Regions from separate parts of the Homo sapiens genome. Here region 1 is linked to region 2. Evidence: promoter capture Hi-C in human tissues and cell types (Jung and others, 2019). All regions are on one chromosome and are shown on one strand. Each heading gives the region's core, a stretch centred on a gene start or on the middle of the fragment in contact. The rest is flanking DNA. Distances are from core to core; before and after follow the strand shown.

What was found. Contacts are between HindIII fragments. The study calls those that stand out against the background at their distance.
Region 1: a fragment that was not itself captured here is called in contact with the fragment with the promoter of NUDT5 in region 2 in 1 of the 25 tissues and cell types used here (dorsolateral prefrontal cortex).

The regions. Positions count from the first base shown.
Region 1 is chr10:13,081,985-13,089,460 of GRCh38, forward strand. It overlaps a transcript of CCDC3 not described here. Among named protein-coding and RNA genes, the nearest start is that of OPTN, 14 kb to the right of the region's middle. The HindIII fragment of the contact is 7,727 bases long and covers 1,402-7,476 here.
Region 2 is chr10:12,191,197-12,198,360 of GRCh38, forward strand. It overlaps NUDT5 (nudix hydrolase 5), which reads right to left and starts at 4,695. Exons shown (of 10, transcript NM_014142.4): 1 at 4,574-4,695. It overlaps CDC123 (cell division cycle 123), which reads left to right and starts at 4,992. Exons shown (of 13, transcript NM_006023.3): 1 at 4,992-5,123. The coding sequence starts at 5,050. RefSeq lists an enhancer at 4,739-5,008. The HindIII fragment of the contact is 7,930 bases long and covers 1-7,164 here.

The DNA of each region.
Region 1 (7,476 bases), core at 4,015-6,514, 890 kb after region 2:
AATGCAGTACCCTGTGGGTCAGCCCCCGAGGGCCATCCAGCCTTGTAGGGACCGGCCCTACAGGGTCTGTGGGTCTTTCACCCTGTGTGCAGAGACAAGAGATCATAGAAATAAAGACACAAGACAAAGTGATAGAAGAAAAGACAGCTGGGCCCAGGGGACCACTACCACCAAGATGTGGAGACTGATAGTGACCCCAAATGCCAGGCTGTGCTGTTATTTATTGGATACAAGACAAGGGGGCAGGGTAAGGAGTGTGAGCCATCTCCAATGATAGGTAAGGTCACGTGGGTCACATGTCCACTGGACAGGCGGCCCTTCCCTGTTTGACAGCCAAGGCGGAGAGAGAGGACACAGCTTACGCCATTATTTCTGCATATCAGAGACTTTTAGTACTTTCACTAATTCTGCTACTGCTATCTAGAAGGCAGAGCCAGGTATACAGGGTGGAACATGAAAGTGGACCAGGAGCGTGACCGCTGAAGCACAGCATCACAGGGAGACGTTTAGGCCTCTGGATGGCTGCGGGCAGGCCTGTCTGATGTCAGGCCTTCCACAAGAGGTGGTGGAGCAGAGTCTTCTCTAACTCCCCTGGGGAAAGGGAGACTCCCTTTCCCGGTTTGCTAAGTAACGGGTGCCTTCCCTAGGCACTGACATTACTGCTAGACCAAGGTCAGCTAAGTAACGGTTGCCTTCCCAGGCACTGGTGTTACCGCTAGACCAAGGAGCCCTCTAGTGGCCCTATCCGGGCGTGACAGAGGGCTCACACTTGCCTTCTGGTCACTTCTCACTGTGCCCCTTCAGCTCCTATCTCTGTATGGCCTGGTTTTTCCTAGGTTATAATTGTAGAACAGAAATTATTATAACAGTGGAATAAAGAGTAATGCTACAAACTAATGATTAATAATATTCATATATAATCATATCTATATCCTATTTCTAGTACAACTATTCCTCTTCTATGTGTTTTCTTTATTATACTGGAACAGCTTGTGCCCTCGGTCTCTTGCCTCAGCACCTGGATGGCTTGCTGCCCACACAGCCTCCATCTTTCAAGACCAATTTTACCTCATTTCTCCAACGACAAGGGGAAAATTTGGCATTCCTTGGAGACTTAACAAGCAGTGAGTTCAGGCACTTCCAAGAGCTGACCCATCAGTCCACCATTATTCATCACCAAGCAGATGTATGGTAGTATTGTAGAGGACCTTTACTGGACATTCTGCCAAACAATTAGAGCAGTACTTGCACTCTAGTTCAATTGGCTATCCCTTTTACCCTGGCATTTCATCAACCAGAAAAGCTTTTTCTTTTAAAAACTCAAGCAAAATAGCTAGAACAAGACATGTTAAGAAAGTTTGCAGAGGAAAAAACTATGAAATCAAGAGGAGGGAACCGTAGAAAGTAAAAAGTTTCCTCTTCACAGTTTCCCTTTTTGTTAAAGAATAAATCATAAGTGTTAGAAATAATAGTTTCTTTTAAAGACTAACTTCCTTCAAGCTTCCTTGATTTGTGCTAATAACTCTTTGTTAAGCCCTATCCTATGTAGCTGTTAAATGTGCTCACAGGCACATAGTACATTCTATGTCCTTGTACTTTAACCAAGATATCTGTGCTGGAGGTGCTCACAGGCATGTCCCAGCTCACAGCCTATGCCCCTTCCTTATTTGGGAATGTTATTACTTTTCTAAGTCCTTTCGTAAGCAACTTCCTCTTTTCCTTTGTTCTCCATTGCTTTTACCTATTTAGAGAAGTTTTAAATTGTCAGCCAATTGGGTTCAGTTTAGATTGTGAGGTCTGGCTCCAGCCAATGGAGACAGGACAGAGTAGCAGGGACAAGCTGCGTAAGGGATAAAAATTGCTTCCCTCCTTTATTCAGGTGTGCTCTTGCCATTTTTCCATCTGCGAGGAGCACCCTTTCTGCAGAAAGTAAAATAACCTTGCTGAGAAAACTTTTTGTCTAAATGCTGATTTTTTTTTCCTTATGGTACCAAGGAACAAGCATTCTGTTTCTGAATAAACATTTTATATATAACATCCTGATATCCCAATATCTTGAGAACAGAAGCATTCCTAATTTTGCTTTAAAGATAGTAATATCGATTCTTGCAAGATATAGTCATTAAGAAAATTAATCCTTTATCACAAACCCTTGTAGCAGAGCACATCTCCCCATGATCTTCTTTATCCTACATAAATGAGTATTATACCTAGGGTGGACATGTTTCTTCTTCTGCCTTCGGGAACGCCCTACCCTGTCTATGGAGTAGCCATCTTTCACCACTCTACCTTCTTTTCTTTTCTTTTTTTTTTTTTTTGAGACAGCATTTCACTCTTGTTGCCCAGGCTGGAATGCAATGGCACAATCTCTGCTCACCACAACCTCCTCCACCTCTCGGGTTCAAGCGATTCTTGTGCCTCAGCCTCTCAAGTAGCTGAGATTACAGGGATGCACCACCACACCTGGCTAATTTTGTATTTTTAATAGAGACAGGGTTCTCCATGTTGGTCAGTCTGGTCTCGAACTCCTGACCTTAGGTGATCCACTCGCCTCGGCCTCCCAAAGTGCTGGGATTACAGGCATGAGCCACCGCGCCCGGCCCCACTTTACTTTCTCAATAAACTTGCTTTTGCTTTGCACTGTGGACTCACCCTGAATTCTTTCTTGCACGAGATCCAATAACCCTCTCTTGGGGTCTAGATCGGGACTCCTTTCCAGTAACATTGTGAGATCCTGATTTTGAGATGCCCAGAAAGTTGCCAGCAATCAGTGGATTACAGAGGTCTGAAGATGTGGGGAGGAGGTGAGCAAAGCCATGAGAAGGAGTGAGATTGTCTAGGGAGAGGAAGGAGAGCACAGTATGGGTGCAGGGGCCAGGCTTGTGTGGACACATCTGGAAAATGCTAGAGCACCCCATTAGCAGGTGACGTTCCCCAACAGAAAATCACGCCCTCCAACCAAGCCTTTGTCAGTCACATACAAAAAAGTTTTAAATCTCTCATCTGCCTTTCTCTGGTTTCACACTTGTTCAGAACCCAGGCAGGGAAGAAGAGAACTATTTTCTGAGGCCCCCTGAAGATCCTGACAACAAAGAGAATAGTTGAAGTGTCAATATCCTTCCTTCCAGAAAGTGTTCTGGCTTCCAGGCAAACTGCCACCACCACCCCAGCAACCTGAGATCAAGGCACTGGAGTCTGCCTAGCAAGCCTGGGTCCCAGCCCCAGCCAAGGGAATATTGAGTGAGCGTGCTGTTGTGTGCGCACCCCAGAAACTTTACGGCTCTGTCACTAAAGGGAGCCACTCCAGTGGTTCTTCCCAAAGAAGTCAGCTTCAAGATGACTCAGTGTCCCCATGCCAGAAATAGAAATGGCTGGCAACTTTCACATGTCAGTTTCTTCTGCTAACAACAATTCCACACCCTGTTACATGCCCATTGAATTTAACAACGGGAGGTCCTTAGCGATTTTGGACACAGCAGATGGATTTTCAGTCCAAAGCATTCAGGAAGCACTGAAATCCGTGACCCCATCCCCACCTCCGTTGTGGGGCTTTGTAATGCATATCAGCATATTGAAGACCGTGGAAAGCAGTCTCCAACATTTTGTTTAATTCAAACTTTTTGATCCATAATCCTCCCTCCTTTCCAGGCAGAAAACTTTCAAATATTCCATAAAACATCAGAAATTCAAGGGACCATGAGGCCAGGTGCAGTGGCTCATGCCTATAATCCCAGCACTTTGGGAGGCCAAGGTGGGCAGATCACCTGAGGTCAGGAGTTTGAGACAAGCCTGGCCAACATGGCGAAACCCCATCTCTATTAAAAACATAAAAATTAGCTAGGTGTGGTGGTAGATGCCTGTAATCCCAGCTACTCAGGAGGTTGAGGCAGGAGAATCACTTGAATCCGGGAGCTGGGGGTTGCAGTGAGCCAAAATTGTGCAACTGCACTCCAGCCTGGGTGACAGAGAGAGACTCCCTCTTAAAAAAAAAAAAAAGAAAGAAAGAAATTCAAGAGACCAAGTATATATTGAAGAAGTTTGGATGAAAAGATAATTAATTAGAAAAAGTGGTCATAAAGGGAAAATATGAACCAAGAGAGGCCTTGTTATTTAGTGATTATTTTTAGATTGGTATAAACTTCCATATGTTCTTAGGCCAAGGGAAGCAGGAAAGATGGCGCATATGAGAAACAGAATAATTCATGGAGCCAGGCCCTTTGGGGATTTATAATCAAGTAGCTTTTACTTGGTAAATACTTCTTATATGAATAACAAATGAAAGGAAGTGAAACCCAAAATTTGTAAGTTTCAAATGCAAAGTAGATGAATAATCATTCTTTTGAGATATTTCCAAAGTTAGCATAACAATTCCAAGTCATTGAGTAAATATTCACATCAATATTTAAGATTTAAGGCAATTGTTTGGAATATTTTGGGAGTTATGAATAAAACTCTGAATCCTCTCTGCAAAAGGTTTCTTTCTTTTTTTTGAGATGGAGTCTTGCTCTGTCACCCAGGCTGAAGTGCAGTGGCACAATCTCAGCTCACCGCAACCTCCGCCTCCCGGTTCTCCTGCCTCAGCCTCCCCAGCAGCTGGGATTACAGGCACATGCCACCACGCCCCACTAATTTTTTGTATTTTTAGTAGAGACGGGGTTTCACCGTGTTAGCCAGGATGGTCTCGATCTCCTGACCTCGTGACCCGCCTGCCTCAGCCTCCCAAAGTGCTAGGATTACAGGCATGAGCCCCCGCGCCCGGCCTCTGTAAAAGGTTTCTACGATGAGTTTCAGGGAATTCAATCCTAGTTTTCAAATTTGTCACCAAAGCTGTGGTTGGTCCAGGGGGTCAGGAAGCGGCACCTGCCACCCAGAGGTGAGTAAAATGCAGAAAACCACTGCCAGTAGTCCCAGATGCCTACAAGCCCTGGGCTAATAACAGTTAAGGAAACATGAAAGGGGCTGCAGATTCATCTGTTGGAAGCCCACACACCTGTTGCAGCCTCAGCTTTTCAAACCTGGCACAGACACATCTTCTCAGCTGTATCCTAAAGCCTGTTGGCAAAGGCATTTCAGAAATATAGTCCCTAGGCTTCTAAGGCCTAAGATACAGAGAAGAGCATAAAAGGTGCTAGGAACAAGGCCGGGCATGGTGGCTCACGCCTGTAATCCCAGCACTTTGGAAGGCCAAGGCGGGTGGATCACCTGAGGTCGGGAATTCGAGACCAGCCTGACCAACATGGAGAAACCCAGTCTCTACTAAAAATACAAAATTAGCCAGGCATGGTGGTGCATGCCTGTAATCCCAGCTACTCAGGAGGCTGAGGCAGGAGAATTGCTTGAACCCAGGAGGTAGAGGTTGCGGTGAGCTGAGATTGCGCCATTGCACTCCAGCCTGGGCAACAAGAGTGAAACTCCATCTCAAAAAAAAAAAAAAAATGGTGCTAGGAACAGTGCTGACGATATCTGGCCCACCCTCTTTGCCCCTCTCCCTTCTCCATGTCCACTCCTCTTAGCAGTGCACCTTATAACAGAAGACCAGATAGAAGGCTAAAAACCAGCACAAGAGAAGTCTGGACCCTGGAAATGGGCGGGTGAGATCGAAGCACAGAAGGGCTATGGAAGTCTGGGGAAAAACAGGAGGTCCTAAGGGGTAGAAGTTTTCCTCCCTACTATAAAAGGATAAGCTATGTTGGGGCTTATCCTTAGATACTTAGAAGATGATACTTAGAAGTATCATCTAAGGTCAGTGGAGAAACTGGCGCAGAGAGCTAGGAGCATAGAGAAGCCATAGCCGCCGCTTTCCTATGTACTCTGCAATGGGCTGGAATGCTTTTCTACAGCCTGAAGGTAAGAGATCTACAAGGTTGGTGCACTAGCAATTGTGGTCCTCCAGACTTTGGATGTGCTCACATTAGGAAGCTTTTGGCAAGGACTTCACGGATAGCATTGCAAGCTGAGGATCTGTATAAAATGATCAGATCCAGGATTCCACTAGTTGGTAAAAAGTCTTTGTGTGCGTTTGAGAAAGGAGTTACTTCCTTGGGAAGACGCAGCTTCACACCAAAGTGCATGACTTGGCATGCTTCAGCCTGCATTCATCCCCTTGGGGATGCAGTGAACAGCCTGCACAACTGTACACAGCCGCCCCAGTCAAATCCTAGCAAAAGACTAATCTACAGTAAATTTATGTTAGCAAACTTAGATACAAGAATTTTGACTCACCATTGAGTCATTGTAAAAGTAGTGTTGGTTTTAGTTATCATTAAAAAGACTCAACAATTTAGAAATAATGTTGAGAAGGATAAAAAAAAATTAACATGCTGCTCTAAAGATAGAAAGAATCTAATTCTATTGGAGAGCTGTAACTCTTAGAATAAATGAAAAGGAAACGTGAATTGAGCAAACCAGTGTTGATAAACACAAGAAAGGGACGTCATAAAATGACATCGCCCCAAATCCAGCAGAGTCAATATCATCAAACTATAATTAGCACAAGTCTCCAAGGAGCATGAATCATATTGAGAAATAGGTTTTTGATCTTGAAAAGTAATATGAGAACTAGAGATGAAAACTAAGCTGTAGATGGCACACTGCAAAAAATTGAGGCTACCGAGGGAATGGAATGAGACAGGCTGCCGCTCACCTGCCTGCCCTGTCTCCAAAAGCACAGGCAAAAGAAGCAAATGAGGCGTTAAGCAGCATTAAGGAGACAAGACGGAAAGGAGGAAAGCATTTTTAAAAAATTAACTGAATATTAGCTGGGCGCAGTGGCTCACGCCTGTAATCCCAGCACTTCGGGAGGCCAAGGCAGGAGGATCACCTGAGGTCAGGAGTTCGAGACCAGCCTGGCCAATATAGTGAAACCTACTAAAAATACCAAAATTAGTCAGGTATGGTGGCGGGCACCTGTAGCTACTCAGGAGGGTGAGGCAGGAGAATCATTTGAACCCTAGAGGCAAAGGTTGTAGTGAGCTAAGATCGTGCCACTGCACTCCAGCCTGGGTGACAGAGTGAGACTGTCTCAAAAAAAAAAAAAAATAAAAGAAGAAAGAAATATTAACTGGATATTGAGATATATGTAGAACAGGTCTACGACAAATTCCCTCCTCAAATTCTCCAGGTTCTGATTCAGATCCAAAAACTACACAGCGGACCATATAAAATACATCTTAGAGCTTACAGATAGTGGCTAACTCTTTAGAAAGAGTCGTCTTAAAGTAGTAACTTTATTTGTTTAACACTTATTTATGAATATTTATAAATGAACACTTATGAATATTTGTAAGTGAACACTTATTTATGAATATTTGTAAGTGAACATTTCTTTATGTTTAACACTTATTATGAATTCTTTATATGAATCATATAAAGAATGCAAGTAAACAACTTAGTACTATTGTTATATTCTTTGAAGTTGCTGGGACTATTGTCCCATCACTTGATTAGAGTCTTCAATTCTCAAACTTGCTTTTCTGT
Region 2 (7,164 bases), core at 3,445-5,944:
CATGGTGAAACCCCATCTCTACTAAAAATACAAAAAAATTAGCCAGGCTTGGTGGTGGGCGCTGTAGTCCGGGCTACTCAGGAGGCTGAGGCAGGAGAATGGCATGAACCCGGGAGGTGGAGCTTGCAGTGAGCCAAGATTGCGCCACTGCACTCCAGCCTAGGCGACAGAGCAAGACTCCGTCTCAAAAACAAAAACAAAACAAAACAAAAAAAACCACAAAGGAAAAACCACCACCACAAAACTCCCAAAACAACTCCACATATAATGATGATTTGCGAACACATTTCTAAGGCCATACACAGATTTGGCTGGATCTCTGCCCCCAAAACTGCAGGCCAACAAAGCACACAAAGCTAACTGGCATGGCACAAATTACTGTTGTGATATGAGGTAGTTTTGGGGGCCAGTGCCATGCACTGCATGTGCCTATAGTCCCGGCTACTTGTGGAGGCTGAGGTGGGAGGATCGCTTGAGCTGAGGAATTCATGATGACCCTAGGAAACATAGTGAGATCCTATGTAAAAAATGAAAAAACAAACACCAAAATAAACTAATTTTGGGGTTAGGCAGCAAGTACAGCCCTCTACAGAAAGGGAGGAAGTGATTAATTTTTCACCAACTTCAGTATGCCAGTATTAGTAACAACAGCTGCATAAAGAGTTAAGTGGGAGTTTAGATTCCAGAAGTTAAACTATGAACTCAAAAGCCTGGTTCTGCAGTTGGCACTGAGGCTCATTACTCAATCACCGTACCCGAATCCCGGCCATCTGCTGAGGCTGCAAAGTGAAGCAAAAAATCCTAACAAGAAATTGTATGTTGGCTAGGTCTCTCCTGATAAAAGATGAATATTGTTAATATCAACAATACTCAACCAAATACAAGATGCAGGAGCCCACATCATAAGTAGAGCCTCTGACTGACAAAAGAGGGTCAGGCACTTGGAACAGTTTAATAATTGAATAGGGAAATCAACAAGGCACTTTGAAAGAAATTAAGTGGGGAGCTGAGGCAGGAGAATCGCTTGAACGAGGGAGGTGGAGGTTGCAGTGAGCCGAGATCATGCCACTACACTCCAGCATGGTGACAGAGTGAGACTCTGTCTCCAAAAAAAAAAAGAAAAGAAAAGAAAAGAAATTAAGTGGGAGAGAGGATCAATTTTTTTTGCAGTAATAACTTACTTTATGATTGTCTTGTTAAAGTCAGGCATCAAATTGGGCATGTCTAAAGTGGCAATCTACATTCTGGCAGAATAATTACAAAGAAAAGTCACTTGATTTAGAAGGAACAAAGAATCAAATAATTTGCAGTTATATTTAATAATTTTGGTCATAGTTAAAAATTTTTAAATTCTATTTTTAAAAGATAATATTCTGGCCGGGCTCGGTGGCTCATGCCTGTAATCCCAGCGCTTTCGGAGGCCAAGGCAGGTGGATCACTTGAGGTCAGGAGTTCGAGCCTAACCAACATAGTGAAACCCCCATCTCTGCTAAAAATACAAAAAATTAGCTGGGTGAGGTGGCACACGCCAGTAGTCCCAGCTACTTGGGAGACTGAGGCACGAGAAAAGCCTGAACCTAGGAGGCAGCAGTTGCAGTGAGCCAAGATTGCACCACTGCATTCCAGCCTGGGCGACAGAGCGAGACTCTGTCTCAAAAGAAAAAAAAAGGATAATATTCTGATGTATCCTTCTTTTGTGCCATTTATGGTAAAAAATTTGGGTACCCACAATTGAATTCACTTATGGGTTTTTTTTTCATTCTCTTCAGGTGTGGCAGTTGGGTGGGCAGGGAGTAATTAACGTTTACTGAAATTATGCTACTTGGTGATCTCCAGGAATCATTTAGCAGGTGGTTTAAAATCCTCACATTTAATGCTGGTTGAGCAAGAGTGAACTGACTGTAATGACCCTTGGGAAGGTGAATTGGTTACAGACGTATAGTAACGACACTGTAAAGATAGTCCAGGCAGGAGATGACAGGTCTGGAGTAGAGTGGTAGCCGTGGCAAAGTGACATTTAATTTCCACGAAGACAGTTTTAAGGGAGACTGGGACATCGGAAGAAAAAAGGGGTGATGCAGAGCTCAAATCTGTACACGCTTGTTTGAGGTGATAGCAGACATCCAGATGAAGAAAACCAGCAGACAGGTGAAAATCTTAATCTAGGATGATTAGTCATGCTATGGATTCAGAGAAAGAAATGTGTTTTTTCATTACTTCATTAGGAATTGCACAATAAATCTCCTCCCCCATAATCACATGACTACTGACTTTTCAGCATGCAGGAGAAAAAGCAAATATTTCCACTGTTGAAAGGTTTTATTGGAGAAACTTGATGAATACAATGACTTCATGGCTTAGTGAAGACAACCACGGTGGTTAAAATACAGTGAACCCTCATTTAGCTGTATCCATTCAAAGTATTTGAGCATCTCCTATGTATAATGTCAATTTATTTGATGCTGGTTAAATGTGTAACAAGTTACTTAAAACCAACTGTAATACCAAAAAGTCATTGAACACACTTCTAAAGTATACTGCCTGAATAAAAGGTATCTATAAAAATTCCTTCCCTGTAGTATCTATATATTTAAGCTTACAAACTTAGCTGCTTTTCTACACACAACTGCAATTCTATATTAAAGCTTTGCAACTGCCTTAATCTCTACACTCTTTTTTTTTTTTTTCCCGAGACGGAAAAAAAAGAGTCTCGCTCTGTTGCCAGGCTGGAGTGCAGTGGCGCGATCTCGGCTCATCGCAACCTCCGCCTCCCGGATTCAAGCGATTCTCCTGCCTCAGCCTCCCGAGTAGCTGGGACTACAGGCATGCGCCAACACGCCCGGCTAATTTTTGATATTTTAGTAGGGACGGGGTTTCGCCATGTTGGACAGGCTGGTCAAACTCCTGACCTCAGGTGATGCGCCCGCCTCGGCCTCCCAGAGTGCTGGGATCACAGGCATGAGGCACCGCGCCCGGCCTATGCTCAAATGTTTCTTGGGCTGTTAAAGTACTGCTCCTCGCAGAAGGGCTATGTTCCCGGGATCTATTCTCTTCCGTACATTCATTCCTATCTTCATTAGAAAACATCTGACCTAAATAAATCCCCCATCGATGCTAACATCTCCTTCCGCGCAATTTTTTACTTTCTAAGTCAAATCAAAACAATTATTTGAGCGACTGCTCCTGTCTGCCATTAAGTCTTTCTGGCACCACCCTCCAGACATATATACAATATTGCTTCTTTCCCTCAAATCAGAAAGGACTGCATAGTTCCGGATCAAGGCATAAATGATGAATCATGACTGTCCATCCCCACCAACATACTCTGCAACATTATAATCTATTTACCTCTGCTTTGAAAATGTATTCTTTAAAGCACTGCTTCCAACTAGCCACTTAGCCAGTAACATTTTTGAGAAAAACAAAACACAACCCAAAACAATGTATATATTCCTGGGGGGAAGAGTTTCTAACTCAAAATACGCAGATAATTGTTTATTATTCTAAGGAACACCCTTCTGAAGAGGCCTGCAGTCGGTGGGGCTGTTTCTAATTTAAAACTACTTAGGTGAACCAGGAAGAATGTACATTTAAGGAGATACTTTTAGACGCAGATGCCTCGCGCAAGCCTAAAGCTCGTGTGGTAAGCGACACGACTAGGGGTTAAAAGCGGCTGGTTGGTAGGCCCGGGGCCGTGGCTCACGCCTTGTAAACCCAGCACTTTGGGAGGCTGAGGCGGGCAGATCACCTAAGGTTAGGAGTTCGAGACCAGCCTGGCAAATATGGTGAAACGCCGTCTCTACTAAAAACACAAAAATTAGCCGGCGTAGTGGCGCGCGCGCGCTCTCAGCTACTCGAGAAGCTAAGGCAGGAGAATCACTTAAACCCAGGAGGCGGAGGTTGCAGTGAGCCAAGATTGCGCCACTGCACTCCAATCTGGGCACAGAGTGAGACTCCGTCTCAAATAAATAAATAAAAGCAGCTAGTTACTTCTCATTCTTTTAACGAAACAAACAAAACTGAACTTTGCTGGGTGACAGGAGTGAAGCAAAGGAAAAAACGATAGTACAAGTTCGATTCGAATTCTTCCAGTCTTATGATTCGATCATCGCAGGAATACTGATAAAAATCTGCGTTTTTTCCAGGTTGACAACTTTTGCGAGGCCAGACTAAACGAATTCAGCGCTCCAAGGAGACTCCTCTTTCCTCTGCTTTCTCACATTTACCTCTCGCCTTTTACCTCCCAAAGTCGAACCCTCCAGGATCGTACAGGCGGTATTCCCTCTACCAAGCATTCTACTCCTCTGCAGATGCTGCAATCTTTACACTGGAACTAACACTTAGCTGTGGTGTTCCCCGCTTTCTTTACTCGGAGTAGCCCAGGCTCTTCCTCTCCAATCCACAATTTCCCTCCAATCCCCAGTTTCCCTCTTGGGCGCCTGGACGCGTGCCCAGCCGCAGCCTGGGAGACACCGCGCGGCTGCACGCACCATGCAGATGTGGTCCCTTTCCCCTTCTTCTTCTCCTCCCCAAAGAGGTTTTGTGCTGTGACTGGCTTGCCCCGGTTACTTACTCCAAGGTGTAGGGGTGAAGAACGGAAGAGGACGAAATAACTAGCTGGAGGCAGCAGTGTCAGCCGATGCCGGTGCCACGGCTCGAAACACCGGCGCCTCTCGCGGTGCTAAAAGGATGGGCGCGCACCCTCCTTCCGGCATCCGTAGAACCCCCGCCTTTGACCTAGCTTCAGGAGATTACTTTCCGGGTCAGCGTGCGTTTAGGGCGAAGACGGAGTTGTAAACTTCTTAAAATTCCTCTCTCGACACTTCGGTAATTCCTCTTTCGAGACTAAAGCTCTTTTTGTATGCGTGTGTGTCAAGCGTATGCCCCGGGATTCTCCTCCGCTTCCTTTTCTCGGTCTTCCTTCTTGCTTTAGGGACCGGAAGAGTCCTTGAACCAAAATAGCTCGGCGGGCACTTCCGGGGCCGGCGCCCAGAGTTCCGGGAGGGTGCAGGCAGGAGAGGGAAAGGCAGCAGCGGCGGCAGCTGGAGGATGAAGAAGGAGCATGTGCTTCACTGCCAGTTCTCCGCGTGGTACCCGTTCTTCCGAGGCGTTACCATCAAGAGGTGAGATGGGAGGGGGTTCGCCCGGTCGACCGGCAAAAGGGAACTGCGACTTCTGAGCGAATCTTACTGCTATCCAAAAAAATGCAGGCCTTCTAGCGACTGCATGGGAGGGAGTGTGTCGAGAGGGAAGTACATCAGCAATTGTCTGCGTCCTGTTGCGAGCCAGCGAGTGTGCTGGCTAGGAGGGTCAGTTGTGGTTTTCAGTGAGGGTCGGAGGCGGGAGGAATAGTGGATTAACCTAGTTTAGGCTTGGGAGTTCACCACCACTACTTTTAGAATGGCCCCAGGCGCAAGGTGATCACTGCCTAAGTGCACTCGGAGAATTAATTGCTTTTCGCCATCACCCCAGAGGATGGAGATTGGGAAGGTGAAAGGATACGTAATTACAGTTAGATACGAGAACAAGTTCACAGATATGTCGTACAGCATGGAGGCTATAGTTAATGACGATATACGTATTCTTGAAAAACGGAGAGTGGATGTTAGTGTTCTCACCACAAAAATAACTATGTTAGGCAATGCATTTGTTAGCTAAATTTATTCCACAGTGTATATATACTTAAAAACATCAGGTAGGCGGCAAGTATTAATATATACAATTTCATCTCTCAGTTTTTTTAAAGGCGTTGATAGAAAATCTGGGCTTTGCACTTAACTGATTTTCTGAGCCAACATTTCAGTAATTGCTGATTCATTATATGATGGTTTCATTCAATAAAGATCGGATATGTACTTGAAAATGTGTAACTGGCTTAGAATGGTTAAAATGTATAAGAAAAGTTTCAAGTTCTTAAATAGTATTGGAATGTGTGGTAGAACCTTAGATTCATTGTACTTAACAATTTCGCTTGTTAGCTTTGTAAGAGTAAAATACTTAGGAAGGCTTATTTGTAATCAGCAAATAGACATATTAAGAAAGAAAATTGAGTGGTTTATGAATAGAATTTAAAATTTTAAAGAGACTTTTAAGTTGCAAAGTTTCGCTTGAAATTGTTTAAAATTTAGTAGATTTTCAAACGTAATAAGATTTGTTAGAAGAAATTAAAAGCCTGAAGAACTAGATTTTTTTTTTTTGAGACAGAGTTTTGTTCTGTCGCCCAAGCTGGAGTGCAGTGGCAGCGATCTTGGCTCACTGCAAGCTTCCCTTCCCGAGTTCACGCCATTCTCCTGCCTCAGCTTCCTGAGTAGCTGGGACTACAGGCGCCCGCCACCACCCCCGGCTAATTTTTTGTATTTTTAGTAGAGGCGGGGTTTTCACCGTGTTAGCCAGGATGGTCTCGATTGCCTGACCTCGTGATCCGCCCGCCTCGGCCTCCCAAAGTGCTGGGATTACAGGTGTGAGCCACCGCGCCCGGCCAGAACTAGATTTTTGAATGTGAAATTGTACCTTTGATAAATCAAATATTTATTTTTAAAACCGAAGTTTTTGCTCTGTCGCCCAAGCTGGAGTGCAGTGGCAGTGATCTTTTATTTATTTAAAAATAAATAAAAATACTTATTTTTAAAACCGAAGTAGCCCATGAATACTCTTTTTTGTGCAAAAAAACCATTTGTAATGTGCCAAAAAAAACTTCTTCCATAAATAAATGAGACATGTTATAAGTCATTGATGTTCTGTTAACTTCGGGAAAGCAGGCTGTAATCTTTTCCACTTTTTGAAGATGTATATGCCTCAAAATCAAAATAATACCAGCACTCTTAGGGATCTGTGGTAGGGCTTTTTGATAATTTATTATTTCAAGGTAAAAAACAAATTATCCCATAAGTTTTTAAGAGACTTCAGGTATGGCTTTGCCATCCTTAATTATGATTACCTGAAACAAATTAAGCTAAAGCATGCCTAGTTTAAGCAGCTTTATATCTCTGGTGATCAGTTGAATAGAAAGCCAGCAAGACACATCCAAAAGTATCATGAATTCTTAGCGGTAGGTGCTCACTGCCAACCCAAGAATGGTTTCCAGATCTTGACTCTACTTCTGCCCTCTATCTTTAGAAGGTGACCAAATGCTAGTCATCTTCTAGTTGGGTTTGCTGCATTTCC